Linked DNA regions of Homo sapiens: region 1 is linked to region 2. Evidence: promoter capture Hi-C in human tissues and cell types (Jung and others, 2019). All regions are on one chromosome and are shown on one strand. Each heading gives the region's core, a stretch centred on a gene start or on the middle of the fragment in contact. The rest is flanking DNA. Distances are from core to core; before and after follow the strand shown. Region 1 overlaps MYOCD (myocardin). Region 2 holds the start of ZNF18 (zinc finger protein 18).

The links. Contacts are between HindIII fragments. The study calls those that stand out against the background at their distance.
Region 1: a fragment that was not itself captured here is called in contact with the fragment with the promoter of ZNF18 in region 2 in 1 of the 25 tissues and cell types used here (aorta).

What each region holds. Positions count from the first base shown.
Region 1 is chr17:12,677,882-12,682,689 of GRCh38, reverse strand. The region is part of intron 1 of MYOCD (myocardin); the gene reads right to left. The region is part of intron 2 of MYOCD-AS1 (MYOCD antisense RNA 1); the gene reads left to right. Among named protein-coding and RNA genes, the nearest start is that of MYOCD, 14 kb to the right of the region's middle. The HindIII fragment of the contact is 4,406 bases long and covers 1,237-4,808 here.
Region 2 is chr17:11,994,877-11,999,072 of GRCh38, reverse strand. ZNF18 (zinc finger protein 18) reads left to right here and starts at 1,598. Exons shown (of 7, transcript NM_001303281.2): 1 at 1,598-1,642. RefSeq lists enhancers at 1,030-1,109, 1,180-1,419, 534-1,517 and a silencer at 1,450-1,899. The HindIII fragment of the contact is 7,782 bases long and covers 1-4,196 here.

The sequences.
Region 1 (4,808 bases), core at 2,190-4,689, 680 kb before region 2:
AGTGTTGAACAGCAGCTTGGATGGCTATTTATGATGCATCCTCTCCATATGGTGCCAGGTCAAGATCACAAACCCTGGATACAACAGAGCATGAGCCCCCTGAAAACTCTCTCCGCGAAAAGGGCAGTGGTACCTGTTTATAATTTAGTCTTTTACCTTCCCTTTTCTGTTGAATCCTACCCTAGGTTTAGCTGGACGCATCCTTATATGTAATCTTTGACCTTGACATTATTGCCTTCAAGGACACTACCAGGCATAGGTCTTTGGGAAAGCTATTGGCTGATGAATGGATAACTTCCTAGAAAGTAACAAGCAGGACCACCATCAGAGGCTTCTGGTCTCCTCCAGAGCTGGAAGCTGATACTGTGTGGCACACATCATATGTACAACTCTCCTCTGCTCTTCCTGTGCATGGTTCACCCACCAAATTCTTTCCTTTGCCTGGCATTATCTGACTCTAGGACAAAGCCACCGTTCCCCACCAGTGGCCCGTGTCATCTGTGGGTCTGACATGTTCCTCTTTGGGGTACAGAAGCATCGAATTTCCCGGTAAAGAGAAGAGGGTGGCTGACAGAATGCTTGGAGAAGGTGAAATGAGAGACCTGGTTATCTGCGTCGGTCTTGCCCTAATCCTGGCCACATTTCCCAAACAAGGCTGAGAGCCAGGGATGATTTTTGTGTGGAGTGCTAATGCCTGAGCTCAATTTGCTCCTTGCCTTCTGATTCCAGGTACCAATGATAACTGTTCCCTAGCCAAATGTTGCCCTGCATGCTGTTATCTGTTGTATTCACTGACCAAGAATAACATAGGCCTGACTGTCTGCTCATCTACTGCAGGGAGTACTCAGAGAGGACGAGGTGAAAATGATGATCAGGTCACTGAGGTAGCCCTCGATGGTCTCAAGGAACAAGGTGAGCTCTGAGGGGTGCTGGGCTGGCCTGGCCTCAGTGACTCTTACAGGAGAGCACTCAAGCAGCGGGGGCTGAGACCAGGTACACACTGTTCTTTCTTCATCCTAAGGGATGTCCCGGCTCTGCTTCCTTTAGGGAGATTAAGAGATATGAATTCAGGCCAGCATCTAGTGCTGGGCATTTGGCGAGTCAAAACCAAGAGAATACTGAAAGCCAAAAGGCTCGGTCTCAGAATTACCATGCAGTGATTTCAATGATTGAGCCTCACGCATGGGCTCAAGTTGTTTTAGAAAGATGTCTGTTCACACGAACACTGCGAAGCTATTCTTTCCCTAAGCACCACACTCTCAGTTTGTCAAAACATTTGAAGAAGACTAATTCATGCCTCAAAAGGAATTCTCTCTCACTCACAAAGCTGCCAGGTTTGTGAGCTTGAGGCTTTCATGTTAAAATAACTCAAGACACTAGAGGAATAGGGAAGAAAAACCTCAAGTGGAAATGCCTTACGATGTCACTAAGAGGGCAGAATCCACAATTCACATGCTCACCGGGAGGATGGGGTGGCAAAGTCAGATGGCTCAAGCCAGCTCTGACTGGTTCGGATACTTGTGCGAAGCAGTACAGGGTAGCAGTCACAAGCATGGACTTAGAATCCAAAGGTGCATGAGATCAAGTCCCAGCTTTTCCATTTACAAGGCATGGGATTTTGAGATAGCTCCTTCAGCGCTGGAGGCTTGGTTTCTTCTTCTATGGATGGGAGGACTGTAACAACAGTACCTCCTTACAGGATTGCTGTAAGGATTAAATTAGTTAGCACACGCAGCAGGCATGTGAGCATCAGATAGTTCTTGGGGTGCTCTATTGGGGTGTAGGGAACCTCATCAAAACCCTCTCCAAGTCAGGGAGGACTGGGAAGCAGCTGACAACACTGTCACTACAAGTGTTCAACTAGCACGGCTGTTCAGCCGCGGGGAACTTTTCCTTCCATCACAAACAGGTCCCTGAAGTACAGAACAGAAACTCGGCAACTGACATAAACAATTTCAAACAATAATTTCAGAAGACAAATTGCTCCATTTGGGCACCAAGATTCCTCTCTGAGGCTTTCCCCACTTGTTTATGTATTCTGTGGCACAGAGCCATGAGTGAATTAAGCAGACAGCGCGCACACACGCCCGGGGCCGGTGGGAGGGGCCTCCGGGAAAAGGACCTGCCATTTGACCTGCGTTCCTTGAAAGCTATTGCTGCAGAGATGCCTGAGACAAAGGGACTCAGATTTACGCCTTCTTGTGTTCGCTTGTTCATCGAGAGAGGCCACAAGATTGGGTGCCAGGAGATCTGAGTTCAAGTGCTTCACCATGCTGTATGTGTAAATTCGGGCAGGTCATTCCCGTTTCTATACCTTAGTTTCCCATCCCTGTAAGACAGACGTCATTATACTCACCTCTAGGGTAATTATAGTGGTCAAATTAAGAGCCCTTTATCCCTAATAAATTACCATACGAAGATTAATGAGGTTAACCGTGGGCATCCACTAAGTAGCTGAATAAAAATTAGATATAAAGGAGAATTAGAGTTTGGAAGAAAGGGTGTATTTTATGAGGCAAAGAAGTTCTTCTAAAATTAAGAGGAGAGTCTTCATTCCATGGGGCTGTGGTTCTTGAATACAGGTTTACGTTCTTTTGAGAGCCTAAGTGAAGCTTGTGATATATACTATTCTATTATAGCATTTAAAGCATGTATTGCCTTTTCTGACTATAAAACAAGTGCGTGTTCATTATAGAAAATTTGAAAAATGTATAAAAGTTTCAGGATGAAAGGCAAAATTAATAGGAATTCAAGTCTGCAGAGATAAGCAGCACCTGCTAATACTTTGCCTTTTTTCTTCTGATTCATATACCTGAACATGGATATAAAAAGGTACCTACCCTACAATTTCTCAAGAATTGGGACTATATCATATGCAATTCTGAAACCTCCTTCTTGCATTGTAAACATCTTTGCATCTCATGATCCTCTGAAAACACGATATTTAAAGTGCATGTTAAATCCCATTTTTTATGTATTTAAATATTTTCTTTTTGTTAACCAACTCCAGTTTTTCCCTCGGTGTTACTGTAGCACATATACCACTGCAAAGAGCATCCTCAAAGATAATCTTTACCTCTCTCATACTATATATATGTTATATATCATATACAAACATATGCATATACATATATATAAATGTAGGTATATTAACCATTCTTTAAATGTTAGAAAATAATCCTGGCTCTACTGTTAGACACAAGGTTTTGAAACAACCAAACATGATGCTTGAGAATACTTTCTGTCTCTGGGACATTCTGTAGTGTCATGCTCTAATCTATGTGTTAAGAACACAATCCTTTGTGAAGGCTGCATTTCTACTAAGCCAGGGATTCCTTTGCTATCCCTATGCCTCATTCTGTCCTCCTCTCCCAGCCAATCCTGAGTTACATTTGCTGAATTTCCATCTCCCCTTCTCATCTAATTCTTTCAATCTTGAAGCCAGTGCAGATGGCTACCATGTTAAAATAAAAAATTAAATTAAAAAAAAAGCTTTAAGCAGACGGACTGTTAGGTTGAGAGAGGAAATAGGTTAAATGCCAGGCATCTGCCTATCTGAAAAGACCATGTTCCCTTGGGCTGCGCATTTCTCTGGGGGACCATGTGGTAAATTTGGTTTTGCAAGCCCCGAGACGAGAGTTCTAGGTCTGAATCTGCTGGGTGACCTTGAGCCAATTTCTTAATGTTTCTGGAAACTCAGTAACCTCATCTGTACAATCAAACTTGTAATCTCACAGAATTGGTAGAAAAATATCACGAGGTCAGGAGATTGAGACCATCCCGGCTAACACACTGAAACCCCATCTCTACTAAAAAAATACAAAAAATTAGCCAGGTGTGGTGGCAGGTGCCTACAGTCCCAGCTACTTCAGAGGCTGAGGCAGGAGAATGCCATGAACTCGGAAGGTGGAGCTTGCAGTGAGCCGAGATCGCGCCACTGCACTCCAGCCTGGGTGACAGAGTGAGACTCCATCTCAAATAATAATAATAAATAATAATAAGAAGAAAACAAAAAAATAAAAATATTAATGAATATGATCTTTTTTGGTGGGGGAGAGAGTTGAATACATCAAAGAAATAAGAGGTGCTATAATTTGGCAGACTGCCTCCAGCTGTCTATCCTCAAAACTTTGTTTTCTCTCTCTCTCTCTCTTTGGTTTTATATTTAGACAGAACAGCATTCTCAATTATAAGAGAAGAGGATCTGGGCTCAGCCATGAGCCTTTGCTGGTCCTCATAGCATGTAATGATCTTGCTGAGACCCAGACAAGGCTTGGCACTGTCTTCAGAGGCATCAAAAGACCAGATCCAGAATAAAAACCACACCTCACCGGAGAATAAGTTTAATTATTATGCCTTTTCAGTTTTTTTTTTTTGAAAGGAAAAGAATAAGTGATGATAGATATATAAAACACTTTGCAAAATACAATATAAGTTATATAATGACAATAATTATCTTCATAACTCTCAAGCACAATCTGGGGTAAAAAGAAATGATAGGCTGGGCGCGGTGGCTCACACCTGTAATCCCAGCACTTTGGGAGGCTGAGGCGGGCAAATCACGAGGTCAGGAGATCGAGACCATCCAGGCCAACATGGTGAAACCCCATCTCTACTAAAAATACAAAAATTAGCTGGGCGTGGTGGTGCACGCCTGCAGTCCCAGCTACTCGAGAGGCTGAGGCAGGAGAATCGCTAGAACCTGGGAGGCGGAGGTTGCAGTGAGCCAAGATGTTGCCACTGCACTCCAGCCTGGGGACAGAGTGAGACTCCACCTCAAAAAAAAAAAAAAACAAAAAAGAAAGAGA
Region 2 (4,196 bases), core at 349-2,848:
GAAGGTGTCCCTCTAAATGTGCCTGGTAAATTGTTAGCCATGCTGTCCTCAGGAACTCAAAGCAGCGCCATCAATCACATGAATGTTAGAAACGTCCAGCTAGGTGCCATGGCTCATGCCTGTAATCCCAGCACTTTGGGAGGCCAAGGTGGGTGGATCACTTGAGGTCACGAGTTCGAGACCAGCCTGGCCAACATGGTGAAACCCCGTCTCCACCAAAAATACAAAAAAAAAAAAAAAAAAAAAAAAAGACTAGAAACTTCCACCTATGTCAGGCTGAAACAGTAGTTTCACACATAGGATCTTGTTCAGACCCTGGGACTTAAGAGAACATGTCGAATCCCTTTTCCGCTGGTCACTTTTCAGGTACATGAAGATGTAATCCCATCCCCGCATCAAGCTTTATTTCTCCAGAGGAGGATCTTTAATTCTTGTAAACATGGGACAGGTACAGGACATGTTATGATAATGACAGGTACAGGACATGTTATGATAATGACAGGTACAGGACATGTTATGATAATGACAGGTACAGGACATGTTATGATAATGACAGGTACAGGACATGTTATGATAATGACAGGTACAGGACATGTTATGATAATGACAGCTCTTCTTTAAATTTTTATTTTTTATTTATTTTATTTCCATAGGTTATTGGGGAACATGGCAGCTTTTTTTGAATACCCTCCTCTTTGCCAGTTGCCCAAGGTGGAACACCCAAACTTTGACATGATACTTCCATTAATGCAACTTAGTATCACAAGTTGATGTCGTGGCCCAGCACAGGATGGCCTGGAAACCGGCAACACTGGACGCTGGGGAAAGGGTAAGAAGGTCTTGACCATTACAAATGGTGTGGAACTGAGCCGAGGGAGGGATAGTGAGAAGGGAGAGAGGGTGAGGTGTCTGAGAGACAATGAGGTCAAATCAGAGGATTCAGCCATTGTTGGCGTGTGGGAAAGGGAAGGAGAAGGGAAGAGTCAGGGATGACATTTGTTGAGAGAGAGAGAGAGAAGAGAGAGAGACGCAGGTGGAAAGAGGATGGCACCACATTGGACTAGCCCCAACGGAATGGGGAGAAGTGGGAGAGGACCCAGGGGATGCAGAGCTGATGAGAGTGGGAGAACCAAGACAGAGGAAGAAGGTTGGGGCAAATCAAGTGTCTCAGGGAGGCCCAGTGAGGCAAGAACGGAAAGGAGAAAGGCGGCGGTTAAGAATCAGGGATAATGGCAGAGCGTTGCAGCTCTGCGGGTGGGACTGGGCGGAAGGGTTTGGGAGAGACAAAGAAATGATCTTTGAAGGCCTCGCAGTGCTTGGCCGAGTGCCTGGCACAGAATAGGTGCGCAATAAATGACGGGTGAGAAGTGAAGGAACTCAGGAACAGTGATTAGTGAGTGAGTGACGGAAGGAACGGAGGATGGCGTTGGCTCGGGAACCTCGCTGCCATGTCGGTGGAGGCTCCTGGGCTGCAACGCCAGAGAGAGGCGGGGCGTCCCCGACGGCCAATAGGAGCTTCGGTATCAGCTCCGCCCCCGCCCCCTAGCTCCGCCCGGTGCCGCACGTCGTTCGCCTGCCGCCTGAGGCGCGCGCAGCCACCCAGCTCCCGGAAGTGCGCCCGGAGCCGGCGCCGCGGGCCGAGGTGAGCGCGCTTGCGGGGCGGTCCCGGCCTCCGGCCGCTCGGGGTCAGGCCTTGCGCTATCTGCGTCCGCACCTGACTCAGCTGGGCACCCCGGAGCTACGGAGGGGCCAGCGGGCTCCCTTGCCCATGCGTCTGGGAGCGCGCGGGGGACGTGGCGAGTGCGGGGCCGGGGCAGCCATGGCTGGGAGTGGACCGTGGGTGCGGGGGGATGTGTGAACCCCGTCCCGGCTCTGCATTCCTGCGCCTCTGCGCCCCGCGGGACCGGCCGGGTCTCTGCACTGGGACCGAAAACGGGCTCCTCCCCGCTGTCTTCCCCTAAGGGCTGAAAATGAGTCTCTGGAAGAGGAAACCCGATGGGATGATGCCTGGAGTCTCTCCCTCTCTCATCAGAGTGCAGTCGGCATTTGGGGGGCGCATGGTGGAGAATACATATCCAATGAGCAGCGCTGCCCTGGCCTCGAGCACTAAATGCCAGTTCCCCTAGCTGCTTGTGACAACCAGAAAACGCCCCAACAAATCACCAGACGTTGGCAGTTCTCCCCAAAGCAAAGGCTTTAGAGCTTCCTGGGTTAATCTGGCTGCCACTTGTGAGCCTCGGAGGTTCCTGATCTGTACACCAGGGTAATTGTGGGAATTGGAAATACATGAACCGAGCTTAATAATGAGCCGATACGTAGTAGGTGCTTAACAAATGGTTACTTATATATGTAACCATGTATGTAACCACTTGTGTATATTACACCTAGAATGCACTTTTAAAAATTCATTCTATTTGTTAAAGGTTTAATAACAGGTATAACAGACAACCTTATTTTTTTTTCATAACTAATGGGGGCAGTTCCTCATGAGGTTATCGGAATATAAACTCTATTAAATTTTTAATACTATATAAAGTAATTTAATTTTGAATAATCGAGACATTTTTCTTACACACTACCTGGGAGTATAATATTACTAACAAAAGATTTAAGTATTTTATAAAATCTGTAGTTTTTCCAAAATGTCATTTCTCTTAAATATTATCTAAACTGCTATCTTAATTTAGGAAACAGATAAATTGCAGTAAGTTTACAGGTCGGTATCTTGCTATCTAAAATCTTGCCGCTTGTTATTTGAAACTCTTGAGCCAAATAGGTTGGATTTACAAAGCAAGGTATTTTTAAAAATATATTTATTCGTTTTTTAAGATGTTATTTGAAACTGTAGGTTTACCTCTGAGCTAAAGCTGCTTTTCAGGTGGTTTGATAATGCTGTCATTGTCACTCAGTATGAAAACATATTTTAATTTCCTTTGTGATTTTTTTCTTTGACTATGGGTTAAGAGCATTATTTAGTAATTTCCATAAATTGGGATTTTCTAGTTATTGTTATTGATTTCTACTTTAATTGCACTATGATCAGAGAATATATTTGAACCCAGGAAGCTCTAAAGTTTTCCATTTGACCTTTCTGGTTTTGTTTCTCTTGTGTTCCTTTTCTATCAGATATTGGGTTTTTGAGTGTTTTTTGGTATTGCTTTAATGGCTTTTTAGCAATACCACTTTGCGTAATATTTTTAGAGCTAATTTTAAGATATCAGTCATTTGAAAATTATGCATATGGTCTGTTTTGATGAATACTCTTTGCACTTGTAATGAATGTATACTCTGCAGTTCTTGGGTCTAGTGTTCTGAAAATGTCAATTAGAGCAAGTCGGTTGATAGTGTTCAGATTTTTTGACTTCACTGACTCTTTTTTTTTTTTTTTTTGAGATGGAGTCTCCCTCTGTCGCCCAGGCTGGAGTGCAGTGGTACGATCTTGACTCACTGCAACTTCCGCCTCCCAGGTTCAGGCTGTTCTCCTACCTCAGCCTCCTGAGTTGCTGGGATTACAGGTGCGCACCACCATGCCCAGCTAATTTTTGTATTTTTAGTAGAGATGGGGTTTTACTGCGTTGGCCAGGCTGGTCTCAAACTCTTGACCACAGGTGGTCCTCCCGCCTAGGGCTTCCAAAGTGCTGGGATTGCAGGCGTGACCCACCGCGCCTGGCCTGGGTTTCTTTTTTTTTTTCTTGCAGTGGTGTGATCTCGGCTCACTGCAACCTCTGCCCCCTTGGGTTCAAGCAATTCTCCTGCCTCACTCAGCCTCCCTGGTAGCTGGGATTACAGGCATTCACCACCACGCCCGGTTAATTTTTGTATTTTTAGTAGAGATGGGGTTTTGCCATGTTGGACAGGCTGGTCTTGAACTCCTGACCTCAAATGATCCCCCTGCCTTGGACGCCCAGAATGCTAGGATTACAGGCGTGAGCCACTGCGCTCAGACCTGGGTTTCTTTTTAAGCAAAAAATAAATTTAATGAGGACCACATAAAAAACATTTGGTATTGGATTACGGTTGCAAGGGTCCATTTATACAAGGATTTTCATCTGCCTCTGTGACTCCTGCGACTGCAAGACCAACCCTTCCTTCTCCTTCTCCTGTTCCTTGTCCTCTTCAGGCTACTCAGTGTGAAGATGATGAAGGTGACCACCTTTATGGTGATTCACTTCCACTTAGTGAATAGTAAATGTAGT